Regions from separate parts of the Homo sapiens genome. Here region 2 is linked to region 1. Evidence: promoter capture Hi-C in 16 types of primary human blood cells and fetal thymus (Javierre and others, 2016). All regions are on one chromosome and are shown on one strand. Each heading gives the region's core, a stretch centred on a gene start or on the middle of the fragment in contact. The rest is flanking DNA. Distances are from core to core; before and after follow the strand shown.

Region 1 (2,629 bases), core at 65-2,564:
CTCAAGTGATCCACCCACCTCGGCCTCCCAAAGTGCATGAGCCATCACGCCTGGCCTAGACCACCCTATTTTAAATGGATCACCCCATCCCACTACTGCCCTGCATTCAGCATGCATGATTTTCTCCATCGTACCCACCCCTACGTATTATACTATTTTACATTGTTTTTAATGTGTCTTGATTTTTTTTTTTTTTTTTTTTTGTCTCTCTACACCACAACTTCCCTCAGTTCCTCAGCCTCTGCAAGGCAGAGACTTGGCTCATTCATTGCTGTCTTCCCAGGGCCTGGAACATGGTAGGTGCTCAGTAAATATTTGCTGAAATAAACAATATTCAGGCAGCACAAAGACAGCCATGTACTCAGCCTGACCATCAGGAAAACACAGAGATGCCTGGAGACGGCCATGCGGTCCCTCTCACACCGTCTCTGACATGCGGGCTGATGGTCAGGAATGCTCACAGTTGACAGTGCCTGAGAGGATTGGTGCAGACACCGTGGGCACAGGCGCTGTCTCCTGCATACCCAGCTGTCCCAGCTGCCCTCCTAGCTGGCCCTGCAACCACTCCTCACAGAGGTAGGCAGATTCACAAGAAGGCCAGGCCTCCTTAGTCCTACAAACGCCCCTTTCACCTGTGGTCAAGGAGATTGGGGGAGGGAAAGGGCAGAAACGTGTGGCCTTTGCTTCCTGCGTGTGCCTCACTTTCCCCATCCAGAGGACCAGAGACCAGGATTGCTCCTTGGAAAGGCAGCAATTCCCACCTGGGGCCTGAAGTGCCCCTGTCAAAGCCCCGAGTGGTTTGAAGGAAGTGCTCCCGGGCGACCACAGGGCTAGATAAGTCAGGGTTAGCAGGTCACAACTTGGGTGACTGGACGGGGGAGGGTCATGACCCACTTTGTCACCCCGCAGGAAAGCACTGCTCTCACCCCAGCAGCCCGTTCCCACATGGCTGCTCATGTTGACCTGGGGAGACGGGAGTTGTCCCCCCGGGGAGTCCCATCTGTCCCCCTCGCAGTCCCAACCTGAGCGTGAACCCCCAGGAGCCCGCGCTGTCCTGGGGTGTGCCTGGTGGCCGCCTACCTCGGGTCCTTTTTGCCGACCCTTCCCGTTTCCCAGATGTCTTTCGCAGCCACCCCCCGCCCCCCCGCCCGCCCCTCCACAGGTGGATCCTATCCTTCTGGGAACATCTGTGTCCCTTGCTTCCCAGCCAGTGAGGCACAGGCCTCTTCCAGCACTCACCATGGCTGCAGGCAGGTGATGGGCCATGGGATGAGTGGGACCCGAGCTGGGGCCGCTGCCTTCAGGAAGTGACTGTGGCTTCTGCTCCACGGTCAGCACACAGGGTGGGGGCTGCTAGAGGTGGGGCGGGGGAGGGCAGAGGAGGAAGGGAAGGAGGTGGGGAGGCTCCAGTCCGTCTCCAGATCCTGCCAGCCACTTCTTTTTTTTTGAGACTGAGTCTTGCTCTGTCGCCCAGGCTGGAGTGCCATGGTGCCATCTCGGCTCACTGCAACCTCTGCCTCCCGGGTTCAGGCAATTCTTTTGCATCAACCTCCTGAGTAGCTGGGATTACAGGCGCGCACCACCGCTCCTGGCTACTTTTCGTATCTTTAGTAGAGAAGGGGTTTCACCATGTTGGGCAGGCTGGTCTCAAACTCCTGACCTCAAGGGATCGGTCCGCCTCGGCCTACCAAAGTGCTGGGATTACAGGTGTGAGCCACTGCCCCGGCCCCTGCTGGGCACTTCTATTTCGCTTGAATTCCTGTCCTGCCTGCTACTGTCCCAAGCTTGGGGCACTGGTTGCCCGCATGTTCCTAACATGGTCACTAGTTTCTTTCTTTTTTTTTTTTTTTTTTTTTTTTTTGAGACGGGGTATCACTTTGTTGCCCAGGCTGGAGTGTAGTGGCGCAATCTCGACTCACTGCAACCTCCGCCTCCCAGGTTCAAGCGATTGTCCTGCCTCAGTCTCCTGAGTAGCTGGAATTACATGCATGTGCCACCACTGCCGGCTAATTTTTTGTATTTTTAGTAGAGACGGGGTTTCACCATGTTGGTCAGGCTGGTCTCAAACTCCCAACCTCAGATGATCTGCCCGCCTCGGCCTCCCAAAGTGCTGGGACTACAGGCGTGAGCAACCACGCCTGGCCAACTAGTTTCTTACTCTCTATAGTCCCCATCATTCCTACTACTTTGGTGTCCCCATCTCTGGACTCCAGGGAGGACTCCATGCCAGGCCCTGGTGACCTCCTGGGCTAGAGAGCCACAGGATGGGGAGATCTCAGCAGATCAGGGGTACGGACAGCTCTGGGGTTTAGGAGGCTCCTGGGGAGGCCCAGAGGCCCAGGACGTGGGGGCCCATGTGACCGGGTGAGGCCTCTGCTGTCTGCCCTGGTTGGCTCATCCGCCTTCCTCATTTCAACACTTCCATGAAATCCAATTCCCGGCTCTGAGCAGGACTCACTTGTTCTGGGGCAGATATCACAGGCCATGGATGTCCCAGGCTGCCGCCCTGGGCAGAAAGCTTAGCTGGTACAGCAGATTTGGGGGTCGGTGGGTGAGTGGTGTCAAAGGCCTTGCACCTGGGCCACGCACGGTGGCTCACGCCTGTAATCCTAACACTTTGGGAGGCTGA
Region 2 (2,629 bases), core at 1-2,500, 92 kb after region 1:
GATGTCCGGCTCACTGCCGGTCCCAGAGCAGAGAGCCCGGTGCTCCCTTCCTGGCTCGCGGTGGGTCTTCGTGCATCCCCTTGCGGGGCATGGCCTGTGACTTATACTCTCCCAATAAGCTCCATTTATGGAGCACTTTATACATGCCATATACCTCTTTAGGCAGTACTACCCCATCTTACTGGGAGAAAACCAAGCTTCAGACAGGTAAGGTCACACAGCTACTAAGGGAATAGCCTGGAGTTTAACCCAGCTCTTTAATTCAGAGTCTGTGCTCTAACGAACTTTGCAATTCAGTTCCTGGTGCCTTCTGAGTTTCTGGAAGGAAACGTGGGAACTGCTGAGGAATGAACAGGAAGGATTTGGGGTTCTTTTATGGGATGGGCAAAGTAGCCGAAGAGAAAGTGGTGGTTCTGAGAAATCGGCCTGGATGATGACTAGGCCAACGGCCTCATCTCTAGTTTTTTCCAGCTGTTGGTTCTCTTTGTTCCCCCATCTAAACTGGAGAAGCCCCCAACACTTTTAAGCTATGTGGAGGGGTGGGAGTTTGGGAGGGGACAATGCCGAGTTAGGTCTGTGTGGGACATGCCTCTCTTTCTCCAGGTGAAAAATCAGCCCCACCTTCTTCCCGTCTGAATCCTGGATGGGCTGAACTAGTCCCAGGGACTCACTCTGACTCTTAAAGTCCAGGTTAATATCCCTGGAGAAGCCCCAGTGAGTTCAGGTGAAGCAAAATCTCTGACCCTCTTGGCCCACATCCTAAGCAACCTCCCAGCGTCTTTCCTCTAAAAAGTAGGTGGTCCTCTCTGACCCTCTTGGCCCACATCCTAAGCAACCTCCCAGCGTCTTTCCTCTAAGAAGTAGGTGGTCCTTCTGTAATTATCAAGTGTAATCCCCGCTTTGAACCCAATTCTTGTAAGCTTTCCAGATGTGGGACTGGATCGATCAATGGCCACAGGAAAGGACCCTTCCTAGGTCAGCCCCTGAGAGATACCTGTACATATGTAAGAAGCTGGAAGAGTTGTTCTCAAATACATTCTCCCTCAAAGGTCCTCTAGAATCTCTGCCTTCTGCCTTATAGAGGACATTTCTCAGCTAAAAACTCAGACTGTGTCCTCTTGGCCATATCTAAAAATATCACATCAGTCCTGTCGCAATCCCACTTCTGACACCTCTTCAAGATAATGATTTCAGCTCTGCTTTTGTCCTCCTCTCCACAAGGAGGCACTGTGGCATATTTGAGTTGTGCAGAGACCTCAATTCTGCTACCAACTTGCAATATATTTCCCCTCTCTGGGCCTCAGTTTACTCATCTACAAGATGGGCAGCCTAATGCCTGTCTTGCCTATATAAATGGCTATGAGGCACGTGACAGGATAGATAAGAAAGGACTTGCACCAATGCCATTATGGGGTAACAATGACCACCACTATCTCTGGACCAGGCACCAGGCTGAACCCTTTACATATATTAACCAGTTCACATTTAGTAAATAAATCCCCCTTTGCCAAGATGGCCTGAAAGATGTTCCTTCAAAAACTAAAAGGAAGGCTCAATTCAACATATAGCCAGTGCCAGCCCAAGCTTGATATTTTGACAGCTCCTCCCCTCCCCTGCCCCTTTGTAAAATTTAGAGAGTCATGAGAGACCTGGATTTAAATCCCAGCTCTGTCATGGTCTCAAACTGTGGCCTTGGACAAGTCATCCTCCCTATGCTATGGCTCAGTCCCTTCCTCTGTAACGTGGGGGCTAGCAGGATTGTCAGGAGTTTAGATGGTGACACACAGCACATGCTTAGCCCATAGTGAGAGCTCAGTAAATGTCAGACACCATGATCATTGTTAGGATACCTGGGTCACAGCAGATGTTGAGGAGTAGCTTCAGAATTCTTTAGGAATTCCTTAGAGGGTGCTGCAGTTACCAGCTAAGTTAGGATGTTGGGGGGTGTCAAGGGTGGAATGTCAGTGAAATAGAAATTGTTCCAGGGTTTGTCTCTGTCTTGCAGTGGAATGAAGGGAGGGCAATTTGGCAGCTGCTTGCCCTCTGCTTTGCATTAACATGGCATCACAAAAACTCTGATCGTTTGAGTTGTGATAGTGTGAAGAACTGGGGCTGAACCTGGGCCCCTAGGGCTGAGACTGTGAGGAGCTTAGGGGTGCATTTAGGGAATCGAGGCAGGTGGGCAGAGGAGGAGCAGATCCTGGCTGAACCTTGGTGGCTGAAGCAGGAAGCCAGCAGGTCTTCAGCTTCCTGGGGGGAGCTGGGAGTGGAACCTCCTGCCCCCCAATGCCCTTCTCTATGCACGAATGGGGCTTTGGGAATCTAAACCTCAGGAAAGGGTGGGGAGAGGTCAGGAGGCTCAGAGCTCCTCCAGACAGGGAGTCCCTGGAAGGTTCTGTCTAGTTCTTTGCCAAGTAGGAAAGATGGCTCATCCCCAGGGAAATTATTTCCGTCAGGACTGGATGTTTAGTTAAAAACTGCCCCGTGAGAGGTCTTGAGACTTTGATCCTGCTGTAGCCCACAGGGGGTGTGATGTGCCAGACAGAAGCTGGCCCCCCAGCCCAGCCCTCAAATCAGGGGTCTGGAGAAGCAGGTGATCCCATTTTTGTTCCCAAGCACTGTCTGATTG

What was found. The method cuts DNA at HindIII sites, captures the fragments that hold promoters and counts their contacts. A CHiCAGO score of 5 or more calls a contact.
Region 2: a contact is called between a fragment that was not itself captured here and the fragment with the promoter of PRAM1 in region 1, in 1 of 17 cell types (non-activated CD4 T cells). The highest score is 5.4, in non-activated CD4 T cells.

What each region holds. Positions count from the first base shown.
Region 1 is chr19:8,501,326-8,503,954 of GRCh38, forward strand. It overlaps PRAM1 (PML-RARA regulated adaptor molecule 1), which reads right to left and starts at 1,315. Exons shown (of 10, transcript NM_032152.5): 1 at 1,240-1,315. The coding sequence starts at 1,266. The HindIII fragment of the contact is 16,783 bases long and covers 1-1,782 here.
Region 2 is chr19:8,592,949-8,595,577 of GRCh38, forward strand. The region is part of intron 12 of ADAMTS10 (ADAM metallopeptidase with thrombospondin type 1 motif 10); the gene reads right to left. Among named protein-coding and RNA genes, the nearest start is that of ADAMTS10, 16 kb to the right of the region's middle. The HindIII fragment of the contact is 664 bases long and covers 919-1,582 here.